7 separate regions of the Homo sapiens genome follow, and regions 1, 2, 4, 5, 6 and 7 are each linked to region 3. Evidence: promoter capture Hi-C in 16 types of primary human blood cells and fetal thymus (Javierre and others, 2016). All regions are on one chromosome and are shown on one strand. Each heading gives the region's core, a stretch centred on a gene start or on the middle of the fragment in contact. The rest is flanking DNA. Distances are from core to core; before and after follow the strand shown.

Region 1 (3,296 bases), core at 467-2,966, 150 kb after region 3:
TTTAGTACTAAATATAATATGTATTTATAGTATCTTTTTTTTTTTTTTTTTTTACAATTCCTTTTCACTAAGTAAGTCTCTGGTGTCTCTAGAGATCATAGCATTCATTCATTTATCCAGCCCACCTCTTGCATGATTGCTCCCATGCATTTTAATTCTACGTATTTTAAACACCACAACACTGTATTTAATTGTTCTGTGTGGTCAATATTGATTTATCTTTACCCATCTTTTTTTTTTTTTATCCTGTACCTTTACTCTTCAATTCTTTCTGCATTTATATTACTCTGAAGAGTCCTTTTTGTTGTTGTTGCTGTCTTTTTTTTAACCGATCACACTTATTTAATAACAATATCTAGTTTAATAATTTTTTTGATAAGACATTTTATTAACAACATGTCTAGTTTAATAAACCGTATTTCTTTTAATGAAAGTCTGCTGGTGCAGAATTCTGTTTCTGTTGAAAATGTTATTTTTTCCTTCATGTTGGAGGATCTATTTGCTGTGTATGTCACTATAGATTTTCAGTTATTTTTTCCAGCATTTCAAGATACTCTGTTATCTTTCACTTTCTGTCATTGATGTTGAAGTTAGCTCTAGCTCTAAGTCTTGTCACTCCTTTGAAGGCTGTGAATCTCCCCTGTGCCTCCTCCGCCTACCCCCAGCTGCACATAAAGTTTTCCCTTTTTCTTTGGTTTTCATCACTGTTAACTATGTTGTGCCTTGAAATTTTCTTTGTGCTTCTCTTGCTTGGGATTCTTGGAGTTTCTTCAGTCTATCGGCTGATACTTTGATATCAGTTTTAGAAAATCCAGAATTCAAGATCTTTTCAATATTGCTTCTGCTGCATTCTCTCTTCCCTTTCTGGATCTTGCACTTACACTGTGTTTCACATGTCTCTTATTGGTCTTTTCTGTATTTTCCATGTTTTATTTTTGAATCTCTGGGCTTTAATTTGGTGTTTTCTTTTGACCTGTCAAGTTCAAAAATCCTGATTTCTGCTGTTTAATCTTCTTTTAATGCCATTTATTTTAATTTTTGGTTCTTCAGTTGTACAATTTTCATTGGTTTCTTCCTGTAGATTTCAGTTCTCTAGTGAAAATTGCTATTTTTAAAATATATTCCTTTTATCTTTTCCTCTATTTCCTTGAACATATTAATCATTATGTTTGTTAACACCAGTATCTAGATTGCATGTGTGTTTGGTTCTGTTTTATATATTTTTTCTTTTGACTTTTGGTCATATGATCCTGTTTCTTGGCATCCTAGTTATTTTTGACTAAATCCTGGGATTGTGTCTTTAAAGATTGTAGATATTCCTGAAGGTGATAACTTCCTCTGGAAAAGGCGCGTCCTTTCTTCTACTGAAGCAGATGCAGTGGGAGCTGGTCACCTTACTCCGGGCAGGTGCTGGGTGGAGTGAAGGCCAGGTTGTTGTTTTAGTAAGCCATCTGCTGCTTCTGGTTTCTTCAGGCTTTCATCTGGAAGCTTGATTTTGCTCACTACACCATATTTCCTTGGAGGCTTCTGAACTAATTTTTGTTTGATCCTGAGCTCTGCTTTTCAGAGTTTTAGTTTATCTTTTTGGCCTTCGCAGCTCAGAATTTGACAGATACCATGGGAGGGAAAGCAGTTGTATGCTTAAGACCTCTCTTGTGCTCTCATTTTACTACCATATAGCCTTGTCAGACTGCGCAAGTTCTGCTTGTTTCTTTCTGCTAGCCATGGCTGTCTCCTCAGGGCCCAACATAATTCTCAGCCTCTTGCCTGTGCCTCCTGTTGTCTGAGAAAAAAGTGGCTTCAGATGATCAGCTCACTTCTCCACAGTTCTCCCCTCTCTGAATCCTTGGTCCCTCTTGTCCTCACTGCTTTGGCAGCTCTTGGGTGCCTTTAAAGAGATAATTTTTGTATTTATCTGTCTGTCTCTTCTACTTTCTGAGAGTTACAAGCTTTTTTTGTCCTACTTGGAGGTATTACGCAAGTCTAGACTGAGTTTTGAATTTACATAGCTACTTGCAGTGATTTAGTGTGATTTGAGATTTTTACTACAGTCTCACTGACAGTGGTGGTTTCTTTTGTTTTTGTTTTTTGTTTTGTTTTTTTTTTTTTTTTTGAGACGGAGTTTTGCTCTCGTTGCCCAGGCTGGAGTGCAATGGCGTGACCTTGGCTCACTGCAACCTCTGCTTTCCGGGTTTGATTTTCCTGCCTCAGCCTCCTGAGTAGCTGGGATTACAGGCGCCTGCCACAACGCCTGGCCAATTTTTTGTATTTTTCGTAGAGATAGGGCTTCACCATCTTGGCCAGGCTGATCTCAAACTCCTGATCTTAGGTGATCCACCTGTCTCGGCCTCCCAAAGTGCTGGGATTACAGGTGTGAGCCACCACACCCGGCCAGTGGTGTTTAAAATAAAAATGTACTTCTTTAATTAATGCTAAATAAGATTGCTTTAATTTGACTTTTTTGTTACCTGGGAGTATATTTTCCTGTTTTTTTTTTTTTTTCTTCTACTTGTATTTACTCTTCAGTGGACTGTTTGTTTCCTTTGAGCCTTTCACAGGCACATTCTCCTCCTAACCTGTGTGGCAAGTTTGCTACTCTAAAGTTTTCTTAGTTGCAAATCATACAGATGCTTAGGAAATTATGAAATAATTTACTGTAAGAAGTCAGGAGGGAGTCAAGGGTAGGAGTTTTTTGGGTCTCTGTGTTTTGTTTTCTTGTACATTTATGTTGTTTCCTGTACCAGCTGCTTTAGATGGTTGGTTAGCTTGTGCAGATCCTATAGTGGTCTTTCTTTTAGGACCAGAATCTGTAATCACCTCAGGCTCTGATGTCCAAAGTAAATGAGGTTGGTCCAGTTAGCAGCAGGTATCTATCCTCTCCCTTTATTGTGGCTACAGACGGAGAAATGGGATTCTTTACCCATTCTTTATGGGAGAAGGGCAGGGTTTCTACGAGGAAGGCATGTGAATGGAGAAGAAATGATTGATAATCTCTGATAAAACAGTGGGCATGCAAGGTGGAATTCAGGCAGTATTTCAGATTCAGAAATGTAGGTCACAATTTCTTATCTGCAGTTCGGAAGCCTGAAAAGCACTGAAAACACAGTTATTCTTAAGTTTATGGCATATTCATTGTTGACAAAACTGGAACTTATATGGGTGAGGCATTTATTACATTTTGAATATTCATATGTTTCATTGCAAATGTTATGTTTACTACATGGCCCTACCTCATGGAGCTTTCAGCCAGAACAGTTAGAGTTCCTGGATCTCTAGTTCAAGTCACCCCCAAAACC
Region 2 (3,438 bases), core at 860-3,359, 190 kb after region 3:
CTCTAGCATTAATGTTCAAGAATTTCTTCAAATGTCTGGTGATCCTTGGCTAACCATTTATACTTGCGTTGAGTACTGTCAGGAAGCTCTGTGTGCATAGGCAAGGTTTGTTGACTGATAGGTATTTTTTGTAGGGATTTAAGGTAGCAAGCTGATTTATTTATTTTTTTTAAATTGAGCAATCTTTAAGTATCAGCAGATTCTACAAAAGAGTCTTCTGATCTTCTTCATCTAGTGTTCTGAGAACCAGGCTGGGCGTTTCAAGGTTCAGTATGTTCACTTGGAATTAATCCTCCTGGTTTCACTAAGACATTTTCTATTCTCTTTCCACTTCCCTATTCCCTACCATCTCTACAAACCACTCTAAGCTGTGAATCTTTTGTTTAAGCAAGAAAGGAGAAACCTTTCTTGTGAGATTAGGGTTTGGGGACCTGTTCTTTTCAAACTTTTATCTAGATCTTTGGTTAAAGTTCACTCTTCTTTTGGAAATACTCTCAAGTGAATTGCCTTTTCCAGGTCCGATATCCCAGATCGACTTGTAGTAGCTTTTCCCAGCCACAGTTAGGTTCCATTTTTTTCTGTTGTGCAAAGTCCATTATCAGTTGTGCAGTTTCCAAAATTTGGTTGACATTTCTTGTCTATTTTCTCTTCAAATGTATTTGTCTTTATGGGTTTATGCCTTTAAAAATTTCTTAGTTGTTACTTTACCTAAGGTATAGGGGAAAGGCAAATACTAAGTACATGTATTCAATGTGCTATTTTAAAGCAGAAGTCCAAACCTTTGTACTGGTTTAAGAAGGAGTACATCCTGTCCAGAGGTTTGTGAGTATTTCCACCAGGGGGCACGTCCTGTTGAAGCTGTCGAAAGAATATTTAAAAATTCCAGCACACAAAAGAAACGAGGTTGAGAATAGAGTGGTCACAAAGGATTCAGTAGAGAATTGCATATTTACAGGCTTCATACTATTCAGTACATATGAATATATGGCTAAGTAAAAAAGACTCCTTTCACGAATGATGTTCATAACTTTTATTAGTGTTTTGCAAATAATTTTTATTACATCTGCATTTCTGTTCCTTTCAAATATATACAATTCTACAAACTGTTAACTAAATGTTTCTAAATATTTGGTCTTACTTAGTGAGTAGGCATATCGTTTATCTTTAGGTGAAAATGACTGCTTAAGTTCTTATGAGGTTTTAAATTTTCTTTTTTGGTTTAAACATGTCTTTGGAATTTGCACTGTTAATTTGCTTTAAGTCTCCTTTTTCATAGCTAACTCAAAGGATTTCAGCCAGTTCTGGACAAAGATTCTGAATTAGTGAAGACTTTAAAATATTAGCTTATGCTTGCTGCACATTTAACCTGCAGCCTGGTTTTGTCAGCTAAATAAATAAAAACTATACCTCATTCTATACTTCTGAAATCCTAGAAAATTTAACTTCTGATTTTTAGTTAAAATAACCTGTGTTTGAAAACAATCTTCTGTCCTTCAAATTACTAATTTTTTTCTTCAATTTTAGTTTTTATTTTTTGGGGTGGGGGGAAGTATCTGTGGAGAACTGTCTTTTGTACATTTTCACAGCTATTTCTTTGATCCCATTGAATTTGTTTTCTTTTTTCTATAATAATTGGTAACTAAAATGTTTGAGATTAAAATGAATACAGATATTGTCTATATCACAAAGTATATTTCTTTTTCTCTCAGTAGTGTTATTTGCTATAATTTCAGTGTGGTTTGAAATTTTGCTTAATTAGATTTCAACTTAGCCATGTTTGGAGCGTTAAAATTGATTGAGTCTGTTTAAATGATCCATTTTTAGTGACATGTATATTTCACCTCTTAAAATAAATTTTTGGAGAATAGAGTACAAAAGCTTTAGTGAAAAATGTAATAGCATGGTTTCTAATGTTAAATCTCAGAGTTATAGAAAGAAATGGAATTAAATTCTCATTCTGCTTTTTTAACTGTTGTTCTTTTGAAACAACCTGTAGATACGAATTTAGACTTGTTATTTACTTTGTACAAAATCGAAATAGGTGCTTACCATTCTGCTGTATTTTATGTTATTGTGAGCACCAGGTTCGTTTGCCTTGCGGTTGCCCAGCTTTCTTTTGTCTTGTCTTAAATTTTCTGTATAGCTATCTAATTTTTTGTTGCTCTAGGACATAGGACTTATGATAATTTAATAGAGATATATATCTGCATATATAATGTGTATGTGACGGTGTTGGTGCTTATCAGTTTGTGGTATTTCTGAGATTCTGATATAAAGTATATGCTTTTGAGATCTGATTTCTTAACCTTGTGATAGTGGTTTATATTAATGTATGATTCAGAAAGCTTTCTTGAATTTAAAAATGGAACTGTGCAATCGTATTTCAGTTTTTCATAATTACCCTATTTCCAAAACACTTTGTTTCTTAAATGGAATATTCACACAACTTTTTCTTACATGCGTGAGTTATGATGAATTTTTTTTAAAGTCAACAATAGTTGATTGAAAGTAACTCCTATAACATCAGTGAACAATCAATTCTTTACACATTGACAACCCAAGGCTTTCACTGATACCTTTAGCTTAGTTGCACAGTATTTATATGTGGATAGACTTTTAAAAATGTACTTAGCTTACCTACCTGCCATTTTTAATATTTTCCAGTCTTCTTGAAAAAAGTTATTGATTTGACCTCCTACCTAAAATAATGTTCTTTAGATCTAAAGCTGGTTAGACACATTATCTGACTGAGTTTACTGAAGCAAAAACATTCCATAACCTTAACCTTTTCCCTGACCCCCTGCTTTTAACAACTGCCGACATAGTTTTATGCTGTTATGTGACCATGCTCGGATGAAATCTGTCAAACAGCTCCTTGAGTTATTAGGCTGTCTGAGTCTGACCTTTCTGCAATCAAAGATATATGACTTAAGGGCTCAGATTTGCCATGGCAACCGGTCCAATTTGCTGCCGTGAGAAAAGGTCTAATTGTTGCAGAAATTTAATGATCTAGAGCGACATCAGGGCTGTGAGATTTTATGAACTGTTTACACCGTAATTTTCATTTTGTTAATGCAGTCTTTTTTTTGTAACCCATTCATGGCTAGAGCATAAGTGATTGTGTTTTATTTAAAATAGCATTGCATAGCATGAGAGCCGTATCGGAGAACATGTGCCACTCTCGAGAAGCCCTTCATATGTGGTGATATTTCACTTTTAACTCCCTTCCTTATTTTCATTCTTTTAAAAGATATTTTAACTGCTTAGACCTTTGCCAGACCTGCATTCATCATTGGTAGAGAAAGAACTATGTACTTTTCTCCTCCATCCTCTTCTGATCTGCTTACTGATTGAGTGCCTGTTGTAAAACAGTAGGAAATCACAGAGCATCTGGGGGAGGAGGTATCATATCACTGTCTATTATTCTTTATCAGCGCT
Region 3 (3,739 bases), core at 1,048-3,547:
TCACCCTAGGGGTAAATACTGTTACGGTGACTGCTGTCTTTTCTTAAACTTCAAATAAATGGAAACTTCAAATAAGTGTGTCTGGCTTCTTGGGCTCAACATGTTGTCTCTGAAATTCTCATGTTGCTGCATGATTCCTTGGTTTGTCCTTTTTATTGCTGTGTGGTATTCCATTGAATTAATATAACAACATTTATGTATCCATTCTATTCTTGATGAACATGTCAGCTAGGATGTGGAGGATTTGGGCTCTATCTTTGCTGGTGGGTGTATACATTGCTGTAATGACTAAGGAAAACTGTCTTGTCTACCATCATTATAATAACTCATTTAGTGAGCATTTACTGTGTGCCAGGTACTGTACAGGAGTCAGCTACATTATCTCAATCTTCACAATGATCCTTGGGAGTAGATAGTTGCCATCTGTGAAACAGGATAATTGTGGCATCAACATGAATAGGATTATTGTGAAGTTTAATTGAGATGATACTTTGAAGGACTTAGCCCAGTGCTGCCATTTTGGAAACACTGTTTATGATACCTGTTACTGGTGATTCCTAACGGGCACAGGATGGGGGGTTCAGGTGCCTGGGTCCCTGCTGAGCAAGTAGCCCAGCAGCCTTGGCCTCAGAGCACCTGGGGGAATCATGAATTTGTGAGCCTCTTTGATAAGACCCTGGCTCTAACTTCAAGAAAACGGTCACTAGGGGAGGGTGAGGGACAGGACTGAGACTTTAGCTTAAGAAGGGCCCTGGGAGCATTCCAGAGCCTTCTTTTACGCACATCTTCCTGAAGCTGAGTACAGAGGGTACTCTGAGGTGATGACTGTTCCTTACCTGTCTCTCTCATTAGCCGGTAAGCCCTGCAAGGGCTTGGCCAGTGCCTGTCTTTCAAATGTTCATTCAGAAACAATTTAAGTGTCTCCCTTGGTCCAGGCACTATGCCAAGAACTGACAGATACAGCAGTGAGCAAGATGGGCAAGGTGGGGAGAGAGACAAGAAACAGAGAGGCACCAAGACTGTGTAGGGGCTGGGCTCCCAGCACTTTGGGAGGCCAAGGCGGGAGGATCGCTTGAGCTCATGGGTTTGAGACCAGCCTGAGCAACATAGCAAGACCCTATCCCTACCTGCCACCCCCCACCCCCCGCCACAATAAAAAATACAAGTCTTGAGGGAGAAAGGACAGAGGAGCTGTGGAGAGGAGGCCTGAGGTCTGAGGGTGGGGGATCAGGGTCAGGTCCTGTGGAGCCTGTAGCCTAGGACACGGAGTGTGGATTTGACCCTTATGCGAAACAACTGGAAGGCTTTTTGTTTCTTTTTCTGTAGAAATGGGGGTCTCACTGTTACCCAGGCTGGTCTCGAACACCCCAAGGGATCAGCCGTCTCGGCCTCCCACAATGCTGGGATTAAAGGCGTGAGCCACCGCGCCCGGCCTCAACTGGAAGGCTTTAAGTGAGAGATGGGGTGCAAGGGAATCCCAGAGTCAGAAAGGTCTTCAGAGAGCCAGGAAGGGCTTGCGGGGGAGGGGCGCATATGGAAGGGGCGCATGGAAGGAACTCACAGATTCCTTGAATGAATGAATGAACGACCCAATGCACTGACGGATGAATGGACAGGCGGCCAGGAATAGCAGCCGGCCCCCAGGGAGCCCCAGACCCCGCGGCCTGAAGCCTTGGTTCTAGGCCAAGGCACAGGCGCGGTGACCTTGGGGATGTCCCCGCCCAGGACTCAGGGCCCGGAACTCGGCGTCTCGGGGGCGGGGAGGGCGTGCCTGGCGGGACAGCGCGCGCGGAGGAACGGCGGGCGGTGCTCCTCGGGTAGGCCCCCCACACATCCCCTTGGCTCAGCCCTGCCGGGGCCCGAACCCGCGCCGCCCGCCGTGTTTACATTCCACCCGCGCCAGCCACGCGGCTTTTTGCCGCTCCAGCGCCGCTCGGCCCCGCCCCCGGCGCCCGCGGCCCGCCCCTCGCCGCCGCGCGCCAGACTTCTCCCGCGTCCCGCCCGCCGCCCCGCCCCGCGTCCCGCGCCCCGCGCCCCGCGCCCGGCCCTCGGCGCGCAGGCCCTGTCACTTGGCCCCGCCCTGTCCGCCGGCCCCGCCCCTGATTCCCCGTCCCTGCGCCTCGCGGGCCGGCGCCGTGGAGGGGCGGGTCCGGGGGCGGGGCGAGGGACGGGGCGGGACGGGCTCTGGGTCCCGCGCGGCCGCTGAGGGGCTGGGAGCCGCGGCGGGGCGGTGCGAGGGCGGGCCGGGGCCGGTTCCGCGCGCAGGGATTTTAAATGTCCCGCTCTGAGCCGGGCGCAGGAGCAGCCGGCGCGGCCGCCAGCGCGGTGTAGGGGGCAGGCGCGGATCCCGCCACCGCCGCGCGCTCGGCCCGCCGACTCCCGGCGCCGCCGCCGCCACTGCCGTCGCCGCCGCCGCCTGCCGGGACTGGAGCGCGCCGTCCGCCGCGGACAAGACCCTGGTGAGTCTACTGCCGCGGGCTGCGGACAGGGACTCCTGGGGCCCAGACCGCGCCGGGGAGCTGGGTGGGGGCGGGGTGCGGCCGGGTCGCGGGTCCCCGGGCGGCGTCGCGGGGCGCCCGGGAGGGTGCTGAGAGCGCGGCGGGGTGGGGTGGAGGGGACACTGAGGCAGCCCGGGCCCCGGGAGGCGACGGGCCGGTGAGGGCGGCGGGGGCGGCGGGACCCCGGGTCGGGGGTCGGCGGGTGCCCGGGTCGCGGGTGACAGGCCACCCCGCCATCGGCCATCTTCCTGGCTCGCCCGGCCGCCCGCGCGCAAAGGGGGAAGGGGTACTGGGCCCGCGGCCTGACCCCGCCGCCGCCTCACCCCGCGCCGCCCCGCAGGCCTCAGGCCGGAGCAGCCCCATCATGCCGAGGGAGCGCAGGGAGCGGTGAGTGCCCGCGCCGCGGGGCCGGACGGGACGGGACGGGACGGGACGGGTGGCGTGGGGGAGGGGCGGCCGCGGGTGCTCACCCGGCCCGGTGCCACCCGGGTCCACAGGGATGCGAAGGAGCGGGACACCATGAAGGAGGACGGCGGCGCGGAGTTCTCGGCTCGCTCCAGGAAGAGGAAGGCAAACGTGACCGTTGTGAGTACAAAAGAGACAGGTTGGGGAGCATCCCCCCCATCTCACCTGGGTACCCGACTTGGCTCTGCCTACGGGGGCGGGGGTCCCTTGGGCAGGAACGGAGCTCATAACCTGATCAGCTTTCTCTTCTTCTCTCTGTTTTTGTCTTGTTTGGTGTGTTTCCTTGGGGTCATGGGGGTGGCTTCATGTTAGTTTTTGCAGGATCCAGATGAAGAAATGGCCAAAATCGACAGGACGGCGAGGGACCAGTGTGGGAGCCAGGTAGGTCCGCCCGGGGTTGGGCCTCTGTGGAGGTCCTTCTCCCCCTGGGTCACATGGGGTTTCATGCTGTCTTGTCTCTTGCTGGAGACACTCTGGTGAGAGTGAACTTCTCTAATGCAGCCACAGCCCATATGGCCCAGCACTGTACCTGTCAGTGGGCACTGGCCTCTGCCAGTCCTGGGATTCCAGGAAGCTTGGTGTTCCTGACTGGCACCGTCTGAGATTACAGATATGTGCCTAGCCTGGAAGAACCAGAATGGACATCACAGTATTCAGTCCTCCCCTTCTGCCCAGGAGGAAACTGAGACTCAGTTAGAGGAAGAAAGTAACCCAGAGTCCTGTGCCATCCAGGGGCAAAGTTGGGCTCTCGGCCTTGTCTGTAAAAGCTGGTGAAC
Region 4 (3,295 bases), core at 404-2,903, 220 kb before region 3:
ACCTGTGATCCTAGCTACTTGAGAGTCTGAGGTGGGAGGATCACTTTAGCCCGGGAGATTAAGGCTGCAGTGAGCCATTGATTGTACCACCACACTCCAACGTGGGTGATAGAGTGAGACCCATCTCTAGAAAAGAAAAGTTCCAGAGTTGATCCATCCTGGCTCTGTGTACCAGGGGGTACAAGGTACAGGTACAGATGCCCTGCATGGATCATCCTGAACCAATCACCAGGGTGAGAGAGACTGAGTGTGCTGACTTGGTGAGCCCAGGATGGAATAAGCCTCACCAGATGCATCTGGGCTGAGAGTGGGATGGGCAGATCCTCCCGCAAAAATCAGACAAGCTATTATTGGAGAGGAAGCAGATGCCAGGAGGCCAAACTGATGTCCCCTGCAAGAAATCTGCAGGGGCCCACCCCAAGGCAACAGCTGTGGGAGGACTGCCCCAGGATTGGAGCACACAGACCCAAGGAAACTTGGCCCAAATGTGCTTTTGTCTTGGAATTTCATCTTCACAGGGTATCTGTGTGAAGGAGAGACATGGCGAGGCTCAAGCTTGGAAGATGTACATGTCATTCTGGAAACACTTGTGCATCATTATATTAGTCTGTTCTAACACTGCTGTAAAGAACTGCCTGAGACTGGGTAATTTATAAAGGAAAGAGGTTTAATTGACTCACAGTTCCACATGGCTGGGGAGGCCTCAGGAAACTTACAATCGTGGTGGAAGGGGAAGCAAACATGTCCTTCACATGGCAGCAGGAGAGAGAAGAATAAGAGCTGAGTGAAGGGGGAAGCCCCTTATAAAATCATCAGACCTTGTGAGAACTCACTCAGTATCACAAGAATAGCATGGGGGAAACCGGCCCCTTGATTAAATTACCTCCCACCGAGTCCCTCCCACAACATGTGGGGATTATGGGAACTACAACTCAAGATGAGATTTGGGTGGGGACACAGCCAAACCATATCAATCATGTATGCTGAGAAAAACCATTTTCATTAGCTTCCCCTCGACCTTCCATGTTGCTGCAAATGAACCCACAGTTCCATCTCGAAAATTCAACTGGAACTATTCCCTTTGTTAAATAAACTTCATTTAAGGGCTGACTGCCTTGGGCCCTGGGAGAAAATGCATCTTTGCTTTTGCTGAGACCAATCTAGGTCAGCAAAGCAAAAGCTTTGTATTTTTTAGAGACATGAACTGCAGCTTAGATGAAGACCAGGGGAAGCATCCACTCTGAAGGTGCAAAGTGGAGAACCGCAAGTAGTCACAGTGGGAGCAGGCTCCAGAGGCCTCCTGCCGCCTCCCTTGCCCCTCAGCCAGGAAAGCCCTTTGAAACAGAGCATCCTGCTTTTGCAAGCCGCACCAGCAATGTCTTCAGGGCAGTCTCAGAGTGCTCCCTGCTGCCTGGGGCCTGAAGCAGCGCTTTCCAAAGTAGTTTTTGCAGAGGCTGCTAGTTTGTTCAGGAGGGAGAACAGACATGGGGGAATTGAGGTCTCTGTTCTCCACCCCTGTATCCTTTTGCTAGCAGGAGACAGCCATGCAGTAGCCACCTCCAAAACGGTCCCCAGTGACCCCTGCCTCTTGGTATTGTGGTCCTCTCCCACAAGGAGTAGGACTGGCTCATGCAACAATAGAACATTGCAGAAATTGTGGTGTCTTTGGAGAGTCGTTCATGAAAAACACTGCAGCTCCTGCCTTGCTAGCTCTTGGATCATCCACTCTGGAGAAGCCAGCTGAAGATATACTCAAAACCATCCTCAAATCATGGCAAGGAACTTAGGACTCCTACCCACATCCCTGTGTAGGGGCCATCCTGGGACTGGATGCTGCACCCACAGCCAAGCCTACAGATGAACAAACCTCTGGCTGACATGTGGACTGCAAGTTGGAAAACCCTGAGGCAGGACTACTCAGTTAAGCCATTCCCAACTTCCTGACCTGCAGAAACTGAGATAGGAAATGTCCTTTTAAGCCACTACATTTTAGGGTAATTGGTTGTGCAGTAATAAATGGTAACACTCCACTTCCAGATGCAGGCGAACAAGTCTTGTCTCCTCATTATCCCCCGGTACTTGAAAGACTTGCTCTCACTCACTGCCCTGATCTCACCCTGCTGGGCGGAAGCTTCCTGAAGGCAGGGACCAGGTTGTAATTAATCATTCTTCCTATGTCTATGTCCCTAATATCCCCACACACTGTAAATGCTGCATGGACACTTACTAGATTCACTTGAATTTCTGTCTTTCTGGATGAGAGAAATCCTGGGAGCACAGCTGTGCTTCTTTCTCCCAGAAATTTCCTTCCTCAACTCAAGATGAGAAATACAGCTTTTTAATTAACAGAAACTATCTCAACCCAGATCTCAAGTCATTTGATGTGATTCGGGGACTGCTTCTTGCAGAGACAACAGTTACTTGCAAAAAAAGCCCACAAGTCAATGCAACTGATTTCAGGAAATTGGGTCCAGCAAGCAGCCTCCACATCCAGGAGGGACCTCACTGCAGCACGGATGGGCAGCACATGTCTGCTCAGCCAACTCACTGTCCCTGCTAAGCCACAGGCTTCCAGCCACCTGCTGATCAGCAAGGACTTTACATGTGTCCTCTACCTGCCTGCCACTCTGCCGAGGTGTCCAACACAGAGCCCCGGTCCCCAAGAGGCTTTCATTCGGCTAAGCAAGATGTTCATGCAGAAAGATCAGCTACACTTAAATCTGAATTCACCCAGGATTGGTTAGTGTGTCATTGACTAAATGGTCTTGGAGAACTGAGAAAGGGATCTTTGTTCAGGGAAAATATACCACAACCTCCCCTCAGGGCACAGGAACCTCAAGGGGTTCATGGTCTAATGGGGAAAGCTTTCCACAGAGGGAATTTCAAAGGGTGTGCAGGGAGTGGCTGGAAAGGAAGAAAGGATAATCCAAGTTGTTGAGTCTTCATGAACAAACAGCCCAGAGAGACAGAGGTGACAAGGAGTCTGTCATGACCCAGCATGAAGTGTAAGATGGAGTGACGAGACATAAGGTTGGGGCACAAGCCATGGGGATGTTGGTAGATAATTCATAAGTGTCTCACATTTCTGCATATCTCATGAGCAGAGGCACTGTTGGCCCTTGTGGTAGACTATCTTTTCAAGGCTATTTATACAGTGAACAGCTTTGGAAGATAGAGACAGATTTGCAAAGGGCAGGCACACTGACAGCCCACTATTTAAAAAGTAAGGGACACTAAGAGTTCCTTGCCTGGAACGAAACCCCTACATGGGAAGTTTCCCTCAGCCCTCTGCATT
Region 5 (3,549 bases), core at 323-2,822, 170 kb after region 3:
GAGATAAGTATTAGTCCAATTTTGCCATTGAAGTTACTAAGACTAAGGTGAATTTGTGTAAATTGCATGTAGAGCTTGGGATTCACTCTCTGGTCTGACTTCAAAGCCATGTTCTTTCTGGTACATAGCCTTGTGCATGAAGTTTTTTTGCCATTTTATCCATATAAAAATTTTCCAGGAGGAGGATTTTTGCCTTAAACAAAAGAATAAAACATGTTTCGTATTTATTTATAGAAAAGGATTTTTTTTGGGGAAAGTTATAAAGCAGTTGCACACTAGAAAATGAGAAAGCTTTCATGAAGGAATGCAGGTCAGAAGACCTAGCTAGGTTAAACTCATTGCTTACCTCATCTTGATAGAGGAGATCTGGCTTCTTGCTATGTGGTTTTTCCATCTTCCTTCTACTTTGTCTTCTGTAAGAGAAAAATACTGATAAGTGACATTTATTATAGGTTATGTAAAATAATATATATGTGAAATTCCTTAAGATCTTAAGACTGAGCTAATTTTTTTTTATTAATTATGCTACTGTTGCTTCAGGGAACTAAGCAGTAAGCTGAAACCAATTCTGTGATGTTTGTCATTTATATTATCTGGAGAGTTGTTACCTACATTGCAGTTTATCCTGATTTCAATTTGACAATGTCTACATGTTCTTTTAAATTACTTGCTGAGTTGGTGAATTTTTGTTTCTGTTATTTTTAAAAACTGACAACATCCTTCTGCTTAAAAAAAATTCAGTGCTGTAGTTTTGCTTGCAGCCTGTATCTTAGCAGGGAACCCTTTGGAAACCCAGTCTCCAGAGAAAGTTTGACGGGCATCTTGGCATAGGCTGCTGCCTGGTATTACTCAAAAAGAAGGGCTGTTCATTTCCAGCAGGTGTTAAGAGCTGAGTAAGGCCCATAGCATGGAAATACGATCATCTCTGCCCCTACAGAGTTACATATACCTTTTGGTTGTTTGAAATTACTTATTTGGTAGCTCTGTTTGATGTAACAAGAAACAGACTCCTAGGCCAAATTGAAACGCCTTTTGTATTATCTCTACTTAATTTCTTCTACCCCCAGTTGATTCTCTCTTACCTTAATCACATTATTATGAATAATTGAAGAGCTGATGATGCATTTTTCAGCCTAAGGTTTTCTGATGAGGACTAAAGCATCTGATCAAATTTCATGTTCATGATTTCAACTTCACAGCCAGTATCTATTCACTCAAAAGCTTTATTAAATCTCTTCTTTCGGCCGGGTGTGGTGGCTCATGCCTGTAATCCCAGCACTTTGGGAGGCTGCGGTGGGGGGATCGCTTGAAGCCAGGAGTTCGAGACCAGCCTGGCCAACGTGGCGAAGAAACCTAATCTCTATGGAAGATACAAAAATTAGCTGGGCGTGGTGTCATGCGTCTGTAGTCTCAGCTACTCAGGAGGCTAAGGCAGGGGAATCACTTGAACCCAGGAGGTGGAGGTTGCAGTGAGCTGAGATTGTGCCACTGCACTCCAGCCTGGGCAACAGAGAGAGACTCTGTCTTAAAATAAATAAATCTCTTCTTTTTTCATCTTGAGTCCCTTCTTCTCTCCAAATATCAGGCCCTCTTTTACTGTCTCCCTTAATTTTCACATTTTATTTGGTCCAGATAGTCTTGTATCTTAAAAAACAGTAATTCTCAAAATTTGAGTATTCTGCTTCTAAATGCCAGAGTCCCTGAAGAGTCTTAATTCTTCAATAAATGTATGGTAGAATAATGCCATTGCTAAACTGTATAAAAACAGGATTTTAAAACTAAAAATAAAACCACATTAATCTTGAATTTGCTAAAATTATGTTTTTGATTAGCTTGTTTTATGATACCTGGCCTACTGGGCCTCCCAAATTGCTGGGATTACAGGCGTGAGCCACCACACACGACTGAAAGAAGAGATTTAATAAAGCTTTTGAGTGAGGCCAGGTGCAGTGGCTCACGCCTGTAACTCTAGCACTTCAGGAGGCTGAAGTGGGAGGATCATGAGGTCAGGAGTTCAAGACCAGCCTGACCAACATGGTGAAACCTCCTCTCTACTGAAAATACAAAAACTAGCCTTGCATGGTGGCGCACACTTGTAATCCCAGCTACTCAGGAGGCTGAGGCAGGAGAATTGCTTGAACCCGGGAGGTGGAGGGTGCAGTGAGCCGAGATCACGCCACTGCACTTTAGCCTGGGCGACGGAGCGACACTCTGTCTCAAAAAAAAAAAAAAAAAAAAAAAAAAAAAAAAAAAAAAAAAAAAAAAAAAAAAAAAAAGAAAAATCGTTAATAATGTGTGTATTTGGTGTTTTCTGTCAACAGGAAGAAGGTAGATAATGACTATAATGCCCTTCGAGAAAGACTCAGCACCTTGCCTGATAAATTGTCTTATAATATAATGGTATGTTTGGTGTGTTTCTTTTAAAGTAATAGTTGTTTCTTGTAAACATATTAACTATGTGTCGGTTCACAGAATGTCAGGCTGATGGACTGTGTCCAAGGTAACTATGTAGCAAGGAAGATTTGTTTTGTTTTACTTTATAAGAACACAGTAATTGTAGTAATTGTTGGTATTTACCTTTTTTTTTCAGAATATATATGGTGACACAAATGACATAAATATTAGCACAAAATTGGACATATTTCAAATGGAAACTTACTATATAAAAAATGTAATTATGACAGAAATATGGTACTAAGTCGTTTCTTGTTAGCCAGAGCAGGAATAGGCCATAATGTTTTGTAATTCACAGAATTAAACCTTAGGACATTGATTTTTATATAAAAACGTGCTGCTAATTTTTGTTTTAATGATCTTCACATCGACATAGTGATCTGTTCATGAGCCCTGGATTAGAGCCTTTCATTGCATGAATGTTCTTTCTTATGAAGACTTTGTTCTTTTATACTAGTCCAAGTATTTTGTATATATAGCTAGATAGATCCATTAAAGCTATTTGTTTACTAATTCCTGCTTTGCAAAAGTGTCTACTTTATTGAAAATAATTTTTAGTTTTCTTTATCAAAAGTATTTTGCATTGACAATGTTTCACTACTAGTTGCTTTCACTTAGATTTGCAAGTGAATGAAAAGTATAAACATGCCGAGACAGTACTACTTTCTTTAAGAGCTATATGTAAATATGGTGTGGATTTATTTTCCTGTTTTAACATTGATTTATGAACATAAAGCAATTTTCTTTAGATTTTCCTAGTAAAATTTTAATATAGTGTTGAATTTCTGTGAAGCTGGCATTTTATTTTTCCCAATGTATAAATAAAAAAATTCAGTTATGTAAGGCTTTTAATGCGAAGTGTTTTATAAAATGTACTTTTCAGTGTTTTATGTTTTTTCCCTTTTTTCTTTTTTTTTAAACAATAGGTACCATTTGGCCCTTTTGCCTTCATGCCAGGAAAACTTGTCCATACTAATGAAGTCACTGTTTTACTGGGGGACAACTGGTTTGCAAAGTGCTCAGCAAAGCAGGCTGTAGGTTTAGTTGAGCACCGGAAAGAACGTAGGTACCCATTTTAAATGATGTTTCTTTGTT
Region 6 (3,294 bases), core at 464-2,963, 220 kb after region 3:
GGCAGCAATTTCCTTTTTATTTTACTTTTTTTGTAGAGACAGGGTCTCACTATGTTGTCCAGGCTGGTTTCAAACTCCTAGGCTCAAGTGATCCTCCTGCCTTGGCCTCCCAAAGTGCTGGTATTGCATGTGTGAGGCACCGTGCCTGGCCTGTGATTTCCTTCTGATTTTGCTAATTTTTGTCCTATATTTTTTGTAATTCTAACTATAGGTCTGTCAGTTTTATTGACCTTTTCAGAGAAACTTTTTGATTTTGTTGATTTTCCTCTAGTTTTCTATTCCAGTGACTTTTACTTTAATCTTTATTATTTCCTTTCTTCTTCCTTGCCTTTTATAGTTTTTAAAGGTGTTAATCTATTGATTTGAGACTACTGTCTTCTAATGTAGGTGTTTAAAGATATAAATTGACCTCTAGGCACTAACCCTTAGCTGCATCCAGTGACATTTGATTTGTTTTAATTTTTCTGTAGTTAAAAATATTTTCTAATTTCTCTTGAGATGTCTTTTTTGACTCATGGGTTACTGTAATATGTATTGTTTAATTTCCAAATATTAGTGGGTTTCTCAAGTTTCTTTCTGTTGGTTCCTGCTTTAATTGTGTTGTGTCTGGAGAAAACATTTATTATGTCTTTAGTTTTTAAAAATTCATTAGGACTTTTTAAAAATGGGTAGCATATGTTCTCCTGTGTGTGCTTCAAAAGAATACGTATTCTGTTGTTTTATGGAGTGTTCTGTTGATGTCATGTCAAGGTCATTGTTATTGTTGTCTTCTGTATTCTTGCTGATTTTTTGTCTACTTGTGCTATCCGTTATTGAGAGTGGGATACTGAGGCCTTACACTATTATTGTTAAATAGTCCTACCTTTCAAGTTCTGTTAGTTTTTGTTTCATGCATTTTTTTCTCTGTTGTTAGGTACATATATGTTTGTCATTGTCATATCTTCTGATTAATTGAAGCTTTTATTATTACAAAATGTCCCTTTTTTCTCTAGTAACATTTTAATTTTAAAGCCTATGTCAGTTTTGTCTGATATGATTATGACCACTCCACCTTGGTTATGGTTATGCTTATGTGGTATCTCTTTTTTCATCCTTTTTAGCATTTGTATCTTGTGGGCAGCATGTGGTTGAATTTTGTTTTTAAAAAGTCTATTTTGCCAGCCTGTCTTTTTATTGAAATGTGTGTTAATTCATGTAATTGTTGATATGGCTCATTTACATATCAATAGCTCATGCCATTTTGTTAGTCATTTTTTATATGTCATGTCTTTTTTGTTCCTCTGTTCCTCCTTGGTTACCTTTTTTTGTGTATGTTAAATAAATCTTTTAGTATAAACTTTGAATTCCTTTACAAAAAGAAACTGTACTTTTTTTTTTTTTAAACCCACAAATTTATTTCTTACATTTGTGGAAACTGGGAAGTCAAGGTTAGCAGCTGATTTGGTTCCTGCCGAGGGCTCTCTTCCTGGGCTGCAGATGGCCTCCTGTGTCCTCACATAGTAGAAGAGAGCTTTACTCTTTTTTATGAGTTATTTTATAGTGGTTGCTCTAGAGTTTATAGGATGCATTGTAACATTATAACCTGCGTCAGAATAATACTAACTTAATTCTGGCAGACTTTGCTTCAGCATAGCTCTAGTCTCTTTTTCCTTTGTCCTATTATTGTAATATATTTTATAACAGTACAGGTTTATTATTTATAACTATATGGGTTCATTATTTTTCCATGCAATTATCTTTTAAGTAAGAGAAGAAAACTTAAAAAGAGTATTTTTTCTATTTTTTACATTTGCCTACATAATTACTTTTACTGGTACTTTAATTTTTTATGTGGATTCAAGTTACCATCTGGTGGTGTTTCCTTTCAGCCTGAAGTACTTGCTTTAGCATATCTTGTAAAAAAAATTTTGGTGGCAACAAATTCTCTTTGTCTATCTGGGAAGATCTTTATTTTTGTCCTCTTTTTTGAAGGATAGTTTTACTGGATTTAGAATTCTTGTTTGACAGTAGAGTATGTTATACCACTTAATTCTGGCCTTCATTGTTTCTTTTGAGAAGTCAGCTGCTAATTTTACTGGGGTTCCCCTGTGCATGATAAGTCCATTTTTCTCTTGCTGCTTTCAAGATTTTGATGTGTATCGGTGTGGATATTTTAATGTTTATTCTACTTGGATTTTATTGAGATACTTGGATATACAGATTTATACTTCTTACTAAATTTGGAATGTTTTCAGACATTAAAAACTTCTATGACTCTTCAAAAGATGTCAAAACTTGTATGGCCCTCACTATTCTTTTCTTCTGGGATTCCCATTATGCATATGTTGGTATTGATTGTAACCCACAGATTTCCTACTTGGTTCATTTTTCATTCTCACTTCTGTTCTTCAGATTGTGTAATTTGTATTGATTTATCTTTGAGTTCACTGATTCTTCCTTCTGCATTCAAGTTTGCTGTTGTCCCTCTAATGAAGCTTTCACTTTAGTTACTTTTCAACTCCAGAATTTCCATTTTTTAAAAAATGTTGATCTCTTTATTAAGTGTTCTCTGATTAGTCATTGTTTTCATGCTTTGATTAAACACGGTTTTCTTTTGTTCTTTGAAGATGTATTTTTATTGGCTGCTTTGAAGTCTGTCTGTTAAGTCCAACATTTGGGAACCCTTGGAAATAGCTTCTGTTTATACTGAGTATTTTTTTTTTTATACTAGATAAGCCATACTTTCCTGTTTAAAACTGGACATTTTAAATAATACATTGTAACAGCATTTATTTCTGATACTCTCCTGCCAGGGGTTATTGTCCCTTTTTTTGTTTGTTTTATGACTTGGCCAAGATTAATAATGAGTTTTTCTCTACAGCGTGTGGCCTCTGATGTCTCTCCTCAGTTATGTTTGACTACTTATGGGTCACCTTGGATCAATATATCTTAGTGATCAGCTGGTGACTGGTCAGAGATTGTACTTAGGCATCTTGTTTTGGTAAGACTTTCATCCTTTGTCAAAGTCTCTGTTTTGTTTGAGGAACACACTGAAAATTTATGCAGTTTACGAGTCTTCCCTGGGGGTATGTATATAGTTAGAGCCTTCTCTGGTCTCTCAGCATGTTCATACCCTAATATGCCCATTACCTTTCAAAATGTAAGCTTATCAAGGACTATGATTGTCTCACTTCCTGATTGTTTCTGTTAAATCTCCAGGCAGAAAATTTTTTTCTTCTGATCTCTTTTTTGGCCCAGCTATAGTATTTCAGCTTCAGGTCATCTATGATGTATGTGGACCTCTCCTATGTTTGG
Region 7 (3,449 bases), core at 864-3,363, 200 kb before region 3:
TGTTGTGCCAAAGTCAAGTTTGGTAAAATGAGGCTTTCCTTAACCTTTTATCATTTCCCACTGTGTTGGGGACACCAGGCTGTGCCCACGTGGTGGGCAGCATCATTCAACCTTGTCACTGTGCCCTCTGCACTTCTGCAGAAGGTGTGCAATCACATATCATAAGTGAAATTTACAGATTATATCTGAATGCCTCGGCCTGCTTTGTCAGTTTTGCAAAAGTTCCTCTTGTGGCTCATAATGAGAGCATTACCTTGAAAGCAAGATTTTGAAAGACCAGTATACCTTTATTTTGCTTCTCCATGAAAGATGAGCCACTCAGGTATTTAAGAGAATCAGATCATTGTCCTATTATAGTCACAATGACGAGAGTGAATTAATTTTTAGTTAGCATCTACAGGTGCAAAGCTGAAGCAGAGTTCCCACCATCATACTGTGAGCTCCCTCGAAGGCTATATGTACCCTATCTTCCCATCCCCATTGCTCTCCCACAGAAGGAAGGCTGCGTTACTATTGACAGATCAGCATCAGTCTGTCAGCCTCAGTCTTAGCATTTAGCACCTGGCTAGTGCAAAAAGAGCTCAGGAAACAGCCCAGCCAGGAGACAGGCCCTCAGGAGAGAGAACTGCCCAGGTCTGTGGCAGGCATGAGGGCAGTGGCATTGCCACCAAATGAGGAATCCGTTATTGGAACTCCAACCTGAGAGGTAGTGAGCTTGGAGGGTTTCTTTGTTTGTTTGTTTGTTTGTTTGTTTGTTTGAGAATTGCACACAATTACGACAGTCATTTTTCCCAGAAGTCCTCTCTAAGAGCCTGTGCTCATTCATGGTAAGTTGACGCCCTGCTCTCAGTGACACCCTTCAGAGAGAGCGAGCCTGGGGCCTGAGATGCTCTCGACGGTACCTTCCTCCAAGTGATGGTCTGCGGGGCGGGAGCGGACCTTTTGGAGAGTGGCCACACCATGCCCACAGAGCTGGAAACCCGGTTAAGGAGTATTGTCCTAAGGGCACAGTGTCAGGGTCCCTGCGCCCTGAGGCTTGGCCGACCCTGGAGCCCTAGTTTTGCTGTTTTCTGTAGTGTTAGGATCACTTCCTCCATAGCTTAGTGCTACTCTGAGCTCACTTTCATCTGGTCATGCCTGGTTGAATATATTTGTTATACATTTCTCAAGCTTTCTCTTCTGCCAAGGATGAGAGAATTCTTCTTCAAGATAGAAAGGTTTTGGTCCTTTCAGAATAACCTCAGAAAAGCAGGGCCAGAGCAGGAAGTGAGCGTTTGACACGCTGTTGTGTGTGACAAACGGTCATGAATTGGTGTGTGAGTGTGACTTACATCTCGGCAGCTGTGGGTAGCAGATGCATGGCGGATGAGCAGGTTGAGAGCCTCAGTAGGTAAAGGGATGGGCCCCATTTGCTCTTGCAGTAGCTGCCGGGAATGGCGGGCGGGATGCCTGGGATCCTGGGCTGCCCAGACCGGAGCAGTGAGCGCCGCACCCCCTTGTCCGCCTGCAGCCTTCAGGAGCACAGCGGGCCGAGGCCTTCGTGAGGGCCTTCCTGAAGCGCAGCACGCCCCGCATGAGCCCGCAGGCCCGCGAGGACCAGCTGCAGCGCAAGGCGGTGGTCCTGGAGTACTTCACCCGCCACAAGCGCAAGGAGAAGAAGAAGAAAGCCAAAGGCCTCTCTGCCAGGCAAAGGAGGGAGCTGCGGCTCTTTGACATTAAACCAGAGCAGCAGAGGTAACCCGAGCTCCCCACGTCTTTCTGCCCGCGGTGCTTACCCTTCTTGGTGTGTGAACTTGGCTGAGTGGCTGGGGAGGCAGCCTGGCTCCACCTAAGCTAAGGGGGCCTCTCTGTCGTCTGCCACAAGAGGGCAGCCTTCCTTTACCAATCTGGGCTGTGTTCAGCGAGGCGGGTGAGACAGGACTCATTGTCTGGCCTCTCTCCTCACCTTCAGGAGTAAGACCCGTGCAAGTACATCTGTTGCCCATGGCAACAGGCTGTTTGTCCTTCGGCTTTGTTAGACAGAAAAGAGGAACTGATATGTTTTTAGTGTGTATTACTTTGTAGCTTTTGATAGAGCCAGACAGTCACCCACTCGGGTTTCATTGCCAAAGCAAGATGTTGCCCACACGTTTCAGAAGTTTCCAAAAGGAATGCATCACTGTCCTGTCCTGTGGGAGGATGTCTTCCTCCAGCCGACCCGCCATCCCTCCTTGGTGACGGGTCTGAGTGTGGGTGTCTTGGGGCTGTCTGTAGGCTTTTGCTTGGAGATCAACGGCCAAATAGCCTCCCACGCTCCAGAAGACGCTTAAAGTATGCCATGCTGTTCCCGGCCCCACTCAGGAGATCAGCTGGGCCTCAGGTGGAGAAGGGGCTGCTGCCTCCCAGGGTTTGCCTCCCGGGTGGAGCCCAGGTTGGGTTTGAGCTTAAGGTCCTCATTTCTCTAACCTAAGGCTTTGTGGTAACGGATTCCCCACAGGATATCAAGACTGGAGATAATGGCCCAGAAGAACGCTGTTGGGGTCCTTGCCCCTGCTCCCCGCTTCTTCTCCCCACCACTTGCTTGCCCACCTTCCAGACCAGCCTGCTGCCTCACATGAGGACCTGCGTGACAACCAGCAACCCCTGCTTTACTGGGGGCTTACTAGGTTCAATTTCACGTAACAGAAAACCTCAAAATAACAGTAGCTTCAACAAGACTCACGTTTATTTCTCTCTCATGAAAAGAAGTCCAGGTGGACACCGCCCTGGGCTGGTGTGGTCCTACCAATGAGGAAACTGAGGTTAGAGAGGTGTAGGTTCTTGGTCTCGGTTATCAGCTCAATTGCTCATCGTCGGATTTGCACATAGTTCCTAATGATCCCAGGTTGCAGTTGTTGGCATCAAGTCAAGCTCTGTGCTATTTGGACATTGTCATCCCAAGCTCATGTTGTCTAACTTTTTCCCTGTTTCTGACTTTGCTGCAGATACAGCCTTTTCCTCCCTCTCCATGAACTCTGGAAACAGTACATCAGGGACCTGTGCAGTGGGCTCAAGCCAGACACGTAAGTTGCATTCCTGAAGCTTTGCTCTTTGGGGTGGATCTCAAGCCTCTGATCATTGTAAATGCGGCTTCAGGAACCAGCGTTGGTATTGCCTGGCTGCAGACGGTTAAAGACCTAGTTGCTTCTTTTGGAACTTTTTATCATGATGTAAACCAAGGGCTTCTGTTTACCCTGCAGGCAGCCACAGATGATTCAGGCCAAGCTCTTAAAGGCAGATCTTCACGGGGCTATTATTTCAGGTAATTTACCTAAGAGCGTGTAGCACATGGCCATCCAGAGGTTCACTCTGTCACTCTGTGGAGACCCAGGGCGTGTGTTCTGTTGGACACACTCTTTACCGTGTGGATTCCCTGAGATGGCCCCCAGTCACCATCATCCCCACGCTAAGGGTGGGAGATGCTTCTCGCT

Evidence for each region. Contacts are between HindIII fragments. The CHiCAGO score rates a contact against its expected background, and 5 or more counts as called.
Region 1: a fragment that was not itself captured here is called in contact with the fragment with the promoter of CCNE1 in region 3 in 2 of 17 cell types (naive CD4 T cells and total B cells); the score reaches 5.5 in naive CD4 T cells.
Region 2: a fragment that was not itself captured here is called in contact with the fragment with the promoter of CCNE1 in region 3 in 2 of 17 cell types (activated CD4 T cells and naive CD4 T cells); the score reaches 5.8 in activated CD4 T cells.
Region 4: a contact is called between a fragment that was not itself captured here and the fragment with the promoter of CCNE1 in region 3, in 1 of 17 cell types (total CD8 T cells). The highest score is 5.1, in total CD8 T cells.
Region 5: a fragment that was not itself captured here is called in contact with the fragment with the promoter of CCNE1 in region 3 in 1 of 17 cell types (naive CD8 T cells); the score reaches 5.5 in naive CD8 T cells.
Region 6: a fragment that was not itself captured here is called in contact with the fragment with the promoter of CCNE1 in region 3 in 2 of 17 cell types (activated CD4 T cells and total B cells); the score reaches 7.0 in activated CD4 T cells.
Region 7: a contact is called between a fragment that was not itself captured here and the fragment with the promoter of CCNE1 in region 3, in 9 of 17 cell types (total B cells, naive CD4 T cells, non-activated CD4 T cells and 6 more). The highest score is 11.6, in total B cells.

Annotation. Positions count from the first base shown.
Region 1 is chr19:29,962,369-29,965,664 of GRCh38, forward strand. The region is part of intron 1 of URI1 (URI1 prefoldin like chaperone); the gene reads left to right. Among named protein-coding and RNA genes, the nearest start is that of URI1, 22 kb to the left of the region's middle. The HindIII fragment of the contact is 461 bases long and covers 1,487-1,947 here.
Region 2 is chr19:30,001,155-30,004,592 of GRCh38, forward strand. All of the region lies in intron 4 of URI1 (URI1 prefoldin like chaperone), which reads left to right. Among named protein-coding and RNA genes, the nearest start is that of URI1, 61 kb to the left of the region's middle. RefSeq lists an enhancer at 2,553-3,438. The HindIII fragment of the contact is 467 bases long and covers 1,877-2,343 here.
Region 3 is chr19:29,809,694-29,813,432 of GRCh38, forward strand. It overlaps CCNE1 (cyclin E1), which reads left to right and starts at 2,298. Exons shown (of 12, transcript NM_001238.4): 1 at 2,298-2,459; 2 at 2,839-2,885; 3 at 2,996-3,083; 4 at 3,276-3,344. The coding sequence starts at 2,863. RefSeq lists a silencer at 1,752-2,381. The HindIII fragment of the contact is 7,130 bases long and covers 1-3,535 here.
Region 4 is chr19:29,589,069-29,592,363 of GRCh38, forward strand. No RefSeq gene overlaps it. Among named protein-coding and RNA genes, the nearest start is that of POP4, 16 kb to the right of the region's middle. The HindIII fragment of the contact is 951 bases long and covers 1,179-2,129 here.
Region 5 is chr19:29,982,902-29,986,450 of GRCh38, forward strand. URI1 (URI1 prefoldin like chaperone) reads left to right here. Exons shown (of 11, transcript NM_003796.3): 3 at 2,322-2,400; 4 at 3,381-3,516. Among named protein-coding and RNA genes, the nearest start is that of URI1, 42 kb to the left of the region's middle. The HindIII fragment of the contact is 706 bases long and covers 1,220-1,925 here.
Region 6 is chr19:30,027,052-30,030,345 of GRCh38, forward strand. No RefSeq gene overlaps it. Among named protein-coding and RNA genes, the nearest start is that of URI1, 86 kb to the left of the region's middle. RefSeq lists an enhancer at 3,252-3,294. The HindIII fragment of the contact is 1,517 bases long and covers 956-2,472 here.
Region 7 is chr19:29,608,899-29,612,347 of GRCh38, forward strand. POP4 (POP4 ribonuclease P/MRP subunit) reads left to right here. Exons shown (of 7, transcript NM_006627.3): 3 at 1,511-1,734; 4 at 2,964-3,041; 5 at 3,219-3,280. Among named protein-coding and RNA genes, the nearest start is that of POP4, 4.3 kb to the left of the region's middle. RefSeq lists an enhancer at 996-1,507. The HindIII fragment of the contact is 1,890 bases long and covers 1,169-3,058 here.